2 separate regions of the Homo sapiens genome follow, and region 1 is linked to region 2. The links are contacts of gene promoters, found by promoter capture Hi-C in human tissues and cell types (Jung and others, 2019). All regions are on one chromosome and are shown on one strand. The core of a region is centred on a gene start or on the middle of the fragment in contact, and the rest is flanking DNA. Distances in the headings are between cores, read along the strand shown. Region 1 holds the start of MRPS12 (mitochondrial ribosomal protein S12). Region 2 holds the start of DPF1 (double PHD fingers 1).

Region 1 (7,048 bases), core at 4,528-7,027, 710 kb before region 2:
CGCTGAGGAAGACCCCAACTGTCACGAGCAACACCTGTCAAACACAGCCACCCACCTGGAGACAGATCAAGAAGCTGTCACAGATGGTGGAAGAAAACCTGAGGAAAGTGGGACAACCAGTCGCAATGAGTAATTTAATGGTAGCTATGATAGCGATGATCACCACTGCCATGAGTATTCCTTCAATAAGGGCTGACACAGAGGACAATTATACTTATTGGGCATATTTATCAATCTTGGCTGGCAATAATGCCTGGATGTAATCACTCTATGACACAGTTATACAAGCTTTCTGATCTCATAATAAATCTGCTCCTATAATTGAGGCATACTGCCCTCAAAAACATATTTGTAAACAGGATTGGACCCAGTTAGCAAAAATGAACGTACTTGTTTAGGAAGATTGCTTTGCAGAACAGGCAGAGGTGCTGCACAACAATTCCTATGGAATCATTATTAATTGGTCACCTATGGGGATGTTTAGCTTGAACTGCACCTCTCAGTCTGCATGCCATGGCCACACTGTGATCAGCTCATCTGAACAAAATGGTCAGATGATAGAAATGGTAAGAAATACAGCAAGAGTTCCTATTATCTGGAACCATGGCAGTATAGTGGCACCTCAGCCTCAAATGATATGGCCTGCTCTAGGAGCTAAACATAAGCATTTGTGGAAACTGTTAATAGCTCTTAATAAAATCAAAATTTGGGAAAGAATAAAAAAGCATCTAGAAGGCCACTCTACAAACTTGTATTTGGATATTGCAAAATTGAAAGAACAAATATTTAAAGTATCCCAGGCACACGTGAACTTAATGCCAGGAACTGGAGTGCTTGAAGGAGCTGCAGACAGATTAGCAGCTAGTAACCCATTCAAATGGATAAAAACACTTGGAGGCTCTGTGATTTCAATGATGATTGTGCTTTTACTCTGTGTTGTTTGTCTTTGTATAGTGTGCAGATGCGGATCCTGACTCCTGTGAGAAGTAGCTCACCGTGACAAAGCTGCCTTTGCTTTTATCACTTTGCAAAACAAAAAAGGGGACATGTTGGGAACAGGCCCCTGAATCTGGCCATAAACTGGCCCCAAAACTGGCCATAAACAAAATCTCTGCAGCACTGTGACATGTTCATGATGGCCATGACCCCCACCCTGAAGGTCGTGGGTTTACTGGAATGAGGGCAAGGAACACCTGGCTCACCCAGGATGGAAAACGGCTTAAAGGGGTTCCTGTACCACAAACAATAGCATGAGCGATCTGTGCCTTAAGGACATGTTCCTGCTGCAGATAACTAGCCAGAGCCCATCCGTTTATTTTGGCACATCCCTTTATTTCCCATAAGAAATGCTTTTAGTTAATCTATAATCTATAGAAATAATGCTTATCACTGGCTTGCTGTCAATAAATATGTGTGTAAATCTCTGTTCGAGGCTCTCAGCTCTGAAGGCTGTGAGACCCCTGATTTCCCACTCCACACCCTGTATTTCTGGGTGTGTGTCTTTAATTCCTCTAGCGCCACTGGGTTAGGGTCTCCACGACCCAGCTGGTCTCGGCACTCTGGGATCCTGCCACGGGGCTGTGTAACCAGCCATCTCTGTGCAACATGCCCAGCACTGCCTGTCAGCATCTCCTGTTCAGGTCAGGCTAGCACCTCTCTCATCAGAATTCCAGAATTCCATCAGAGGCCAAGTCCCCCACCCCCACCTCCTGCCCTTGCTTTGGGGGCAACTTCCTGCAAGGTAACACTTCCTTTTCTCCACACTCCTGTATACAGACTCCTGGAGCAGAGTGTGCCATGAGGAAAAGCTCTCCCATCCCCCCATCTCCCTCCACTTCTCTATTTCTCAGCTAGGCATGGCCAACAAACTAGCTCAATAAAACTGGTGCCAAATATGAGGGGATGGGCAATTTTTATCTGTAATCAGTGCACTTATCTGCCACCAGCTCTGATCCTAAAAGACCTTGTGGCCTCATGTTTACAATCAGGAGACCCTCAGGAGGCTGTGTGTTGAGCGTCAAGAGGAACTCGGAGACAGCTATGATGCTCCAAACAGCTCTCAAGCATGCACCCTTATCAGCGCCATTTGGTCCAGGCTCAGAGTGTAAACAACCTGCCCAAGGTCACCCAGCCAGTAAGTAGGGGAGGCAGGGCTTGGAGCAGTGCTGGGCTCCAGAGCCCAATGATATAAACACAGTTCCAACATTGTTTTTTCTTTTTTCTTTTTTTGAGACAGAGTCTCACTCTGTCACCCAGGCTGCAGTGCAGTGGTGCTGATCTCAGCTCACTGCAACCTCCACCTCCCAGGTTCAAGCAAGTCTCCTGCCTCAGCCTCCTGAGTAGCTGAGATTATAGGCACATGCCACCATGCCCGGGTAATTTTTGTATTTTTAGTAGAGACAGGGTTTCACCATGTTGGCCAGGCTGGTCTCAAACTCCTGACCTCAAGTGGTCGGCCCACCTCGGCCTCCCAAAGTGTTGAGATTACAGGCATGAGCCACTGCACCTGGCCCCACTTCTTAAATCTTACATGGCCAAAAACATGATCAGGTGCAGTCAGCATTATCATCAGTGCCATTTTCCAAGGGAGGAAACCGAGGCCCATAGGGGGAACCAACATAGCCAGGTCTCATAGCAATTATGACGGGGAGCAGAATTTGAGCTCAGGTGAACCCAGTAATAATTTTATATTATTATATAATATAATAGTGGCTCACACCTATAATCCAGCATTTTAGGAGGCCAAGGTGGAAGGATCTCTTGAGGCCAAGAGTTCGAGACCAGCCTGGACAACAAAGCCAGATTCCCACTCTAAAAAAATGGAAAAGTTAGCCAGGTGTGGTGGCACACACCTGTGGTCCTGACTACTCAGGAGGCTGAGGCGGGAGGATCTATTGAGCTCAGGAGGTCAAGGCTGAAGTAAGCTTTGATCATAGAACCGCACTCCAGCCTGGACAACACAGTGAGACTCTGTCTCTCTCTCTACACAAACACACACAAACACACACACACACACACACACACACACACACGTATAAAATAAAAGAACAGCTCCCGGGTGTGGAGCAGCACACCCCATTGAATCCTTTCCACACCCCTTCCACATCAACATTACAATTACTGCCATTTTCCAGCTGTCCATGCTTGAGGGCAGAGTTTATGTGCCCAGAACCCATGGCCTGCAGGAAGAAGACCTGGGCCTCTGTGCCACCTACCTGACTCCTAAGCTTAAAATACAGTAGCCCTCTGCCAGGCGTGGTGGCTCACGCCTGTAATCCCAGCACTTTGGGAGGCCAAGGTGGGCAGATCACCCGAGCTCAGGAGTTTGAGACCAGCCTGGCCAACATGGTGAAACGCTGTCTCTACTAAAAATACAAAAATTAGCCAGGCCTGGTGGTGTGTGCCTACAATCCCAGCTACTCGGGAGGCTGAGGCAGGAGAATCATATGAACCCGGGGGGCAGAGGTTGCAGTGAGCTGAGATCAGGCCACTGCACTCCAGCCTGGGCAACAGAGTGAGACTTTGTCTAAAAAAAAAAAAAAGAGCCCTCCGTGCGTGTTATGCACATAGAGCATCGAATTTAATCTTCACCAAACCAAACAAAGGAGATACCACCAATGGAGCTATTTTCTGGAGGAAACTGAAGCTCAGAGATGTCCACTGCCACAGCCACACAGAGGGCAAATACTCCACAAGGGGATTTACATCACAAGCGCCAGGGTCTGTTTATTAAAACCCCTTCCCAGCAGAGGGCAGTACAGTGTCTTGTCCCAGCAGAAAAGGTCCTTCAGGCCACCCCTCTAAACACAGGAGCCAAGGGTGTTGACAGAGGGGCACCCTTTGCACCCCCAGGACTCCTATGGCTTAATAGTGGTCCTGATGGAAGAGGCGGAGCCAGGACTTGAATCCATGAGTGGCTGCCTCTAGAGGCGCAAAGGCCAGCATCGGAGGACCCTGTGGCAGCCAGGAGCGGAAGGTTCATGTTCTGCAGGGGCGCCCAGCCCACTGTGCCCCCAGCCGTCACTTCTTCTGCACGTGGCCACAGTCGTACTTGCCACGCACAACGGTGAGCTTGACGCCTGGCAGGTCCTGGGTGCGGCCGCCCTCCACAAGGACAATCTGGTGCTCCTGCAGGGTGTGGCCCTCCCCAGGGATGAAGCAGACGGCCTCGCGGCCAGTGCTGAGCCGCACTCGACAGCACTTGCGATTGGCTGAGTTGGGCTTCTTCGGCTTGCGGGTAAACGTGCACAGGACCACACCCTTCAGCTGCGGCCGGCCTTCCGTGGGGCCCAGCTTCCGAGGCGGCCGCTTGGGGGGCCCCAGGCGGTGCATCTGGTTCAGGGTAGCCATGGAGCAGGTAGCCCAGAGCCGGGGAACCAGAGCTGGGCCTGGAGAGGGCCGAAAGGGGTTATTATCCCAGAGAACAGATCTTAGAGTAGTAGCAACTCAATTTTGGTGTTTTAGGCATTGTTTAAAGCACTTTACAAAGATGCATTTGTTCACATCTAATGTTATCTACAGACAAAAGTAACTCTTTATTCTTCAAGGAAGCATTACCTTTTTTTTTTTTTTCTTTTTTTTTTTTGAGACAAAGTCTCACTCTGTCGCCCAGGCTGGAGTGCAGTACCTCAATCTTGGCCCACTGCAACCTCTGCCTCCTGGGTTCAAGCAATTCTCCTGTCTCAGCCTCCTGAGCAGCTGGGACTACAGGCACCCACCACCACGCTCGGCTAATCTTCGTATTTTTAAGTAGAGACGGGGTTTCACCATGTTGGTCAGGCTGGTCTCGAACTCCTGACCTCGGCCTCTCAAAGTGCTGGGATTACAGGCGTGAGCCACCACGGCTGGCCAGGAAGCATTATTTTTAATGCTGTTTAAAATAATAGTAGGCTCAGTGGCTCATGCATGTAATCCTAGCACTTTTGGAGGCTGTGGAGGGTCACTTGAGCTCAGGAGTTAAGGCCAGACTGGGCGACACAGGGAGACCTCCCTCTCTACAAAGAATCAAAAAGTTAGCTGGTTGTGGTTCTGCAGGCCTGTGGTCCCAGCTACTTGGGAGGCTGAGGCGGGAGGATCACTTGAGCCCAGGAGGTCGAGACTGCAGTGAGCTGTGATCACACCGCTGCACTTCAGCCTGGGCGACAGAGGGAGATCTTAAATAAATAAATAATAAAACTGACCCAAACGCCGCTTGACACGCAGTAGCCCTCCATGCAGCTGCTTCCCACCTCTTGCTCTAGCAGCCCTAGCTCTGCCAAAACCCCACCGTGTTTTTCCACCCCCGTTTCCCTCGGGGCTCCGACGGAGGCACACAAGTCCAAGAGCGAATAACCCTCCCCCTCTAGCCTCGTCCCTGAAGCCCAAGTCCCCCACTTACCACAAGTTAGGGACGTGTTGAGGCCATGGAGAAGGCCAGACCAGGACATCCTGCCACCTGGGCCGTCCCTGTGGTAGGGGATAAGAGACTCAGAAAGGAGGAAAAAGTGACCGATCCGCAAATGCTCCCCGATCCGCTCTCAGGACTTTCTGGCTTAAATCAAAGGAAATACCTCTATAGGTCTAACCACAGGCCCTCATGCTGCTAACAGAAAGTCCCTCCGTAAATTTAGCCTCGCTCTGAGTGGGTTCCCGAGGGCCCAACCACTCTCGCCCGCACGCAGGAAGAACTGGGAAACTGGGGAGATGGCCTGGTAGATTTGGAGGACCCCAGGATTCCACCGACCTCACAGGACCTAAAGGTGAGGTCGCGGACACGCTGAATCCAGCTTCTAGCCTCTTCCGGGCGCTATCCGTGCAGGGATTGGCTGGTTCTGCCTCGCGTCACTGAAGAGGCGGGACACAGACGACGATTGGGCGACGAAGGACTCTATCGCGGTCAACTTTCCTCAGGATCTGATTGGCTCGTCACGGTCAGGTTCGCTGCCTTGCAATTGGTCTAAACGCGGAGTGGGCGGGACGAAGTGCCGCCTTGTTCCCGGTCCAAGATGGCTGCGTCCATGGCGCGGCGCTTGTGGCCTTTGCTGACTCGTCGGGGGTTCCGGCCCCGGGGAGGCTGCATCTCCAACGATAGTCCAAGGAGAAGTTTCACTACAGAGAAACGAAACCGGAACCTCCTGTACGAGTATGCGCGCGAGGGCTACAGCGCACTCCCTCAGCTGGACATAGAGCGGTTCTGCGCATGCCCAGAAGAGGCCGCACACGCCCTGGAGCTCCGCAAGGGGGAGCTGCGCTCGGCGGACCTGCCCGCGATCGTGAGTGCGCCTGCGCCGGCCGGGGGGCGCAGACGTTTGCTTTACGGAAGAATTGGGTTTGCAAGATGCCCTCCGGCAGGGGGCGAACCTGTAGTAGGAATTTTAGTTATTTCCCAAGTTAGCCAACGTCTTGTGCATGGCACCCACTTATGTGCCAGTTGTCCAGTGAGTGCTGAGGCCCTACTATGTGCCAAGAATGCCTACTGTGTCCTGGACACCCATTATGCGCTTGTTTCATACTGCTCGCTGGGTACCTCCTGTCCTTTAGGAACTTGCTATGTGACATTGCCCTCCGTGCTGCAACCTCATGCCAGCCTTTCCCTAAGACCACAAAGGAAAATGGGGAGCCAAGTGTGAATCGGACGGGGTCAGGGCTGGGGTGTGGTGGAGCTCTTGCGTTTAGAGAGAGAGGTAGGGAGAGTTGTGCACCTCCGCCACACATAGCAGGCAGTTAAATAGAGTTAATGAATGAATGAATGAATCCATTAATGAATGGTTCTATTAAACTGATACTTAAGGTGCAACTGCTATATTCCGGTGTTCTAGATGTTGCAAATATGCGGTGAATAATAATAAAATTGCTAGCACTTATAAAAGGGAATTAGGACCGGGTTCACAATATCTCTGTGTTGAGGTGCTAACGATAGTGGGGTCCCCACGTCTTCCCATTCCTCTCTTGGACTCCCCTCCCAGCCTGTTTGAAGTGCTTTATTCACTTTAACCTCGTTTAATTTTCACAGCAACTCTATGAAGTAGGTGCCATTATTTCTCCCATTTTATCAGAGGGGAAACTAAGG
Region 2 (7,121 bases), core at 4,622-7,121:
CGACATAGAAGAGACACCCAAATAGGCCTAGACAAGAATACACGACAGACCCTAGGGTCATCCACATACCCTGGGGACATCTAGAAGCTAGGGACCACCTGCTTCCGCGCCCGCGGTGCCTGGAGGGTGGAGATCCCGAGTTGGAGACCGAGCACTCCCAGGGAGGGAGGAAAGATGCTCTGGGGGGAGCCCCGCCCCTCCCTGTATCCCCAGCAGCCAATGGGAGCGCGGTCCTCCTGACGCCCCCTGGGACGTGTAGTCCGGGCAGGGGCGCCCTCGGGCGCCGCCGCGCGCCCCTAGACTCCACGTCCCGTCGTGCGCTGGGAGGCGCGGGGATTGGCTGAGCCCCGCCCCCGGCCCGCCCCGCTCCGCTCGCGCCGCAGCCCCAAGAATGAATGAAATCGTAGCGCGCTGGGCGGCAGAGCGGGCGGCGCAGGCCGGGCTGGGCCCGCGCGCGGCGGCAGCGGCGCCCCGGGCCGGAGGCGGCCCAGCCGAGCGGGCCATGGCCACCGCCATTCAGAACCCGCTCAAGTCGTGAGTGTCCCTGCCGTCCCCGCCCCCTGTCCAGACCCCCCCACCAGGAGCCCTTCCCCCGCCCGCCCTGGGGCTGAGGAGGGGGACGCAGCGCGCGGACCGTAGTTGAATGGGGGCCCCCAGCGCGAACCCTTGCCCCGGGGGTCCCCACCCCCTGTCGCCCCCTGGGGTTGGGGGCGGGAGCCCCTCCAGGGTCGCGGGGGCGCCTCTTCTTTGTCGCTGTCAGTGAAGGAATGCGGCGCGGGCTGGGGGTGGCGGAGGCCGTTTCCCCACCCAGAGTGGGGGTAGGGGTTTCCCTCTCCTCCATCTCTCCCTCAGGGTCTCCGGAGGTGCCGGGCCTGCCCCGGCCGGGGCTGAAAGCTCGAACACCTAAGTCCGGACCTCGGTCTCCAGGGTTTCCATCACCCGCTCTCCGCTCATCAAAGCGCCTTTCTCTCTTTCCCCTTCTTTCTCTGAGGACCCCGGCCCTCGCGGCCGCAGGGTGGGAGCTGAGACGTCGGGGGTCCCCAGTTCCATCCCCGCTGCCTCCCCTTTTTCCTCCCGGGATCCCGGGAACTGGAAGCCCCGAACCCGCCGTCAGTCTGGACCGCGGCATCCCTCCCTCTCCCCGCGCATACACATCAAACGGGAGCATCTCTGATCCCTTTGGGGACCGGCTGCCCAGGAGGGGGTGCCGGGAGCGCCCTCGGTCTCCGGGGATTCCCTCCCTTTCTCCCTGGCCGCGGTCCTCCGAGCGTTCGCCTCTTCCCGGGCCCGGTGGCTGGGAATCCGGAAGCCTGGGTCCGAGCCTGGCCCCTCCTGACCCTCTCCTCTCCTTGCCATCCCTCGCGCTCTCCACACCTCCCCTTCCCCCTCTCCATCTCGCTCTTGCTTCCTCTTCGGGATCCCGGACTCCACGTCCCAGCGCTCCCCACCCCCCGTTCCCAGGCGGTGACAGCGGGCTCCAAGTGACAGGCACTCGGCCGCTCCCGCCCTCCCTCCCCGCAGGCGAGCGAGGCGCTCCCCTCCCCCTCCTCCCGGGCCTGGTGGAGGAGGCGGAGGGCGAGCGCCCGCGGCGTCGCACAAAGGGGCCGGGGCGACCTCCCCCACCCTTCCCCCAACCCCGTGCGCTGGCTGCCTTGACCTTGAACATCGAGGGCTGGGGGCGGGGGTGGGGGGTGGGGGGAGAGAGGGAGAGAGGGAGCGCCCCCCTACCCCACCCACGAGAAGGGATGCGCCTGCTGGCTGGACCAGAGGCCGCCAGTTGCTTCTGGTTTCTGGCGGGAATGGGGGTGGGAGGTGGAGGGTGGGAGTTGGGAGAGGAAGGGGGGCAGGGACTTAGAGGCAAGCGCCTACACGTGTGGCTTCGCCGTGAGCAGGGTGCCGGGAGCGGGTGTGTGGGGCTCGGGTCCGTGTGAGGTGGTGTATGATGGTGACACCCCTCTGCTGCCCTCTCACCCTAAGTGGCACACACAGACAGCTGTCTCTCCTGTGAGGGGACATCCGCAAAATGGCTGGGAACGGGGCTCTTGTGCAGGTTGGTGGATCTACAGGCGATGGGGCCCCTCACCCTGACCCTGGCCCAGACCCCTGGGAGGAGGTGTGCTACAGCCGTGAGCAGGGGCCCAGCTACAGTAAGCCTGGACTGGGAGGGCCCTACCCCTCTGTGCCCTTCCCTTCCAAAAGGTCTCTGTGGGGGTGAAGGTGGGGACTCCCTGGCTCCTGAAAGAATGTGAGTCAAATCCCCTGGGGAGAAGGAGCTGCAGGGTGCCGCCCTCGGAAGTTCCGACTGCCTGAGTTCCAAAACCAGCTTGAGCCACGAATGTTCCCTGCCGTGAGCCTCAGTTTTGCCATCTGTGTATGGGGGCTTCTAACAGCCCTTACCACCCGATGGGACTGTCGTGGGGCTAAGGCCATCTTTGTAAAGCAGTTAGCACAGAGACTGACACTGACCAAATGTAGTGATTATTATTAGTAGTATCAATATTGATTTATGAAATTGATTTCTACTGTGGGCCAGCTCCCACACAGGGCATTGGGGGATGGGGCAGGAGGATTGTTTGGGCCAGGGAGAGGACTGGGAGTTCAAGTGTGTAGGAGAGTATGTGGGAGTGGTGTGTGCAGGTGGTTAGGGCAGAAGGAAAGAAAGGAGAGCCCGCTGCAAGTGTCAGCCTGCGTCTGTGGGTAGATATCCTGCTGGTGGGCCGGGCATGGTGGCTTATGCCTGTAATCTCAGCACTTTGGGAGGGCAGGGTGGGCAGATCACTTGAGCTTAGGAGTTTGAGACTAGCCTGGCCAACACAGGGACACCCTGTTTTTACAAAAATACAAAAATTAGCCGGGTGCGGTGGCACAGGCCTGTAGTCCCAGCTACTTGGGGGTTTGAGGTGGGAGGATCGCTTGAGCCTGGGAGGTGGAGGCTGCAGCGAGCTGTGTTCATGCCATGGCACTCCAGCCTGGGCCATCGAGTGAGACGCTGTCCAAAAAAAAAAAAGAGAAAAAGAGAAAGAGGAAAGAAAGAGAAGAAAAGAAAGAAAGAAAGAAAGGAAGGAAGGAAGGAAGGAAGGAAGGAAGGAAGGAAGGAAGAGAAATAAAAGAAGAAAAGAAAAGAAAGAAAAATAGAAATTCTGCTGGTAGAGGAGGACTGTTAGGAAGGTCTGCACTCAGTGTCTACACTCGGGCTTCTCTTAATCAAATCGACATGAGAGTTTGGGGTGGGGCAGGAGTGAGTCTGCGTGTCTGAGGCTAGCGGTGTGGGAATCAAGTGTAAGAGGGTGTGTTACGGGACCTGTGAGCTAATGGGAGGTGAGAGAGGAAGGTGGGGTCACAGCTCACCGTGGGTAAGGTGTGAGGTGGCCACTATAGGGCCCTGGAGGCCAGAGTGATCGTAGGGGTGTCAGTGCCCCTCACTTAATCCCCTTGTCACCACTCCAGGCCATATGTGAATCAGAGACCTACCTCCTGTTCCAGGAGAGGGGCCGGCCAAGACCTTACCTGGCTTAGATGGGCGAGTTTGTGGAAAGGGTCTAAGACTAGAGGAGTGTGTGTGTGTGTGTGTGTGTGTGTGTGTGTGTGTAGAAGTGACCGTGAGTGTAGGAGGCCTTGACTGGATCTCTCTCTTGGGGGGATTTCAAGTGACAAAAATGGTGAAGGCTAGCGGGCCACTTCTGTCGGCTGGGGCGCCCCCTGGTGGATGAGGGCGTTTGTGGGCGTGTTAATTACAGCAGCCGCCCAAATTTGAATGCTGGCTCTACAGGGGTCCGGGTGGAAGAGGGGAAGGGGAAAGGGGGAGAAGGGGTGGGAAGGGGAAAGGGGGAGGAGGGGTGAGACGGGAGGGGGGACGGGGTGGTGGTGTTGCAGAGAGACTGGGTCAGTTTGTGACTCAGTGGGTCTGCTCACTCCCTGGGGATCTCTTCGGGTGGAGTCAGTGTGGGTGACAGTGGGAGAGAGAAGGAGGTCAGGACTACTTGGGGAGGGCCGTCAGGGGTGCCTGCCTCCTTCCTTCAGTCTTACCTTCAAAGAGCCGCCAGGGCATGCGGGCATGTGAGGTTACCTTCCTGTGCCTCAGATTCCTCACCTGGAAAATGCAGATAATAAAAGCATCCCGGGGTGAACTGTGCCCAGCACATGATGGGTGCATTTACTCATTCAACAAATATCTACTGAGCATCTATTTTTTTTTTTTTTTTTGGAGACAGGGTCTTGCTCAGTTGTCCAGGCTGGAGTGTAGTGGTGTGATCATAGCTCACTGCAGCTTCGATCTCCTGGGTTCAACCAATCCTCCTGACTCAGCCTCCTGAGTAGCTGGGACCATAGGCATGTGCCACCATGCCCAGCTATTTATTTTTTTTTTAGTAGAGACCAGGTCTCGCTATGTTGCCCAGGCTGTTCTCCTGAGCTCAAGCGGTCCTCTCATCTCAGCCTCCCAGATTGCTGGGATTACAGGCATGAGTCACGGCGCCCTGCTTACTTAGTTTTTTGTTTGTTTGTTTGTTTGTTTGTTTGCTTTTAGAGACAGAGTCTCGCTCTGCCACCCAGGCTGGAGTGCAGTGGTGAGACCACAGCTCACTGCAGCCTCAGCCTCCCAGGTTCAAGCTATCCTCCCACTTTAGCCTTGCAAGTAGCTGGGACTACACTGCTGCGCCATCATGCCCAGCTAATTTTAATTTTTTTTTGTAGACACAGGGGTCTGGATATGTTGCCCAGGTTGGTCTCAAACTCCTGGGCTCAAGCAGTGCTCTCATCTAGGCCTCCCGAAGTACTGGGATTGCAGACTGGAGCCATCGCACCTGGCCGCATTATTCTTTCTTTCTTATTATTTATTTATTTATTTTTGAGAGGGAGTCTCACTCTTGTTGCCCAGGCTGGAGTGCAATGGCACGATCTCAGCTCACTGCAACCTCCACCTCCTGAGTTCAAGTGATTCTCCTGCCTCAGCCTCCTGAGTGGGGGAGTATAAGCATGCGCCACCATGCCCGGCTAATTTTGTATTTTTAGTAGAGACTACTACCATGTTGGCCAGGCTGGTCTCGAACTCCCATCCTCAGGTGATCCACCTGCCTGGGCCTCCCAAAGTGCCGGGATTACAGGTGTGAGCCACTGCGCCTGGCCTGCCAGTCACCTCTTAAAATGCTTTACCTATATTTACTCATTTAATCCTCACAACACTCCAGTGAGGCATCATCCTCTTTTTACAGATGAGGAAACTGAGGCCCAGAAAGGTTAAGTCATTTGCCAAGGTCACATGGCCACCAAGTGGCAGAGCTAGGATTTGAACCCTGGAGGTGTGACTACTGTTTCTAACCTGCACTGCTGCTGTCAGGCCTGCAGAAGGCGTTGAGCAGGGCGGGGTGACCGTGAGCGTGGCTGCTGGGAGAGACAGCCCCGGGTGGGGTCTCTGGAGCCAGGAGGGACTTGGGTGGGGGGCGGTGAGGGGGTGTCTGCTGGAAGCATGTTGGTGAGAAGTCTGTGTGGGCACCTGGGAGGTGTCTCTGCGTCTCTTAGTATTGCAGTGTGTGTGCGTGTGGCTGTGTGAGTCCGTGCGAAGGTGTGTGAGTAGGAGTGTGTGGGAGGCTGTGAGTATCCGCGTGAATGTGTGTGTAAACTGCCATGCGTGGGCGTGTGCGAGTCCAGGTGTGCATGTGGTTGTGTGCACGCGAGAGCAGGATATGTGGACGAGTGAGGGCGGGTGAGTGACGGTGCGTGCCCCGGGCCCCTCCTCCGCGCCGTCCCGTCCCCGCGGGGTCCCGGGGGCCCCCTGGCCTGGGACTACCACTCCCAGCATGGCCCGGGCGGGCCCGCCCCGTCGCCGCGATTGGCCGTGGCCCTCGTGCTCCCGCCCCCCGGGAATGAATGGATGGGCGGCCTCAGCGCCCGCCCGACCGCTGGGAGGACCGACCCGGCGGGGACCTGCTGGGGGCAGGACCCGGGGAGCAAGATGGCCACTGTCATCCCTGGCCCCCTGAGGTGGTGCGGGCCGGCGGGAGGCGGAGAGGAAGCGCGGGCGGGTCTACGCGGGCCTGTGTGTGTGTGGCGACCGGGGGTGGGGCCGAAGGGGTGTCTGGGGGGCTGTCACCGAGTGCGGGGCTGCGCGGGGGTGCGAGAGTGTGTGACTGTGGGTCTCTGACAAGAATGGTGTCGGATGCACCGCTCCCTGGCGGGGTGGAGGGCGTGGGGGGCCTCCAGATTCTTTTTGGGGAAGGGAGACATCATCCCTTCCCTGCAACCCTCGGGTCTGGGAGAGACTGAAATGACCCGGGGGTGCGGGGGCCTTGGCAACTGGAGTGAAGTCCACACTACCTTTGTCTTGGGATGTGGAGTGTGTGTGTGTATCACTTATTTGTGTTCTGGTTTTTTTAAGAATTTTTGGGGGATAGGTGTGTGGACATGTGTCTGTTTCCTTTTATTCTGCACTAGATATCTTTGGATATTTGGGTCTCCCAGTGTGTGTCCGTGTCCTTTGGAACTATATGTCATTTGTCTTGTGTTCTGTGTTTTTGGGTATGTAGGGCTGCGTGTATTTGTGTGTAAATTTTTGTGTGACTATGGGTGGATTTGGCTGTTTCTGTGTTTTATATGTGTGTGTGTCTGTGTGGATGTGTGATATTTTAGATACTGGTTGCGCATCGTGCATCTTTGTAAATGTGTGTGTGTACCTGTGTGAATCTGTGTGATTTCTTTGTGTTGTGTGTCTGGATATTGTGTGTGTGGTTTGTGTTGTGTCTTTGGATACATGGGTAAGTGCCTAGGGGCGCAAGTGGTTTCTGTAGTTCCTGTCTTTTGACATGCTTGTGTCTTTGGATGCATGAGGGGGTGTATGTGTGTGTGGTGTGATGTTTCCATGTTGTGTGTCTTTGTGTGGGTGATGTGTTTCTGGTGTGTGTCTGTGGATATGTGATGTGTCTTTGTGCATGGTTATTTGTGTGATTTGTCTCCACACTATGGAACTTGGGATATTTGTCTTTTTCAGTAGATATTTATGTGTGCACGTGTGTGAGGTTTGTCTGTTTCTCCTTTGTGAGTATTGGGATTTGTCTCTCTTTGTGTGTGAATCCCGTGTGACTGTGTGTGATTTGTGTTGTGTGTCTGCATGTGTTCAGGTAGGGATA

The links. Contacts are between HindIII fragments. The study calls those that stand out against the background at their distance.
Region 1: the fragment with the promoter of MRPS12 here is called in contact with the fragment with the promoter of DPF1 in region 2 in 1 of the 25 tissues and cell types used here (spleen).

Annotation. Positions count from the first base shown.
Region 1 is chr19:38,929,673-38,936,720 of GRCh38, reverse strand. It overlaps MRPS12 (mitochondrial ribosomal protein S12), which reads right to left and starts at 5,777. Exons shown (of 3, transcript NM_033362.4): 1 at 5,723-5,777; 2 at 5,378-5,445; 3 at 3,553-4,388. The coding sequence starts at 5,426. The coding sequence ends at 4,021. SARS2 (seryl-tRNA synthetase 2, mitochondrial) reads left to right here and starts at 5,958. Exons shown (of 16, transcript NM_017827.4): 1 at 5,958-6,251. The coding sequence starts at 5,985. It overlaps LOC124904713 (a long non-coding RNA gene), which reads left to right. Exons shown (of 2, transcript XR_007067253.1): 2 at 1-1,898. RefSeq lists an enhancer at 5,874-6,333. The HindIII fragment of the contact is 13,053 bases long and covers 1,607-7,048 here.
Region 2 is chr19:38,222,972-38,230,092 of GRCh38, reverse strand. DPF1 (double PHD fingers 1) reads left to right here and starts at 5,871. Exons shown (of 12, transcript NM_001135155.3): 1 at 5,871-5,979. The coding sequence starts at 5,951. RefSeq lists silencers at 114-493, 5,537-6,106 and an enhancer at 1,844-2,614. The HindIII fragment of the contact is 15,736 bases long and covers 1-7,121 here.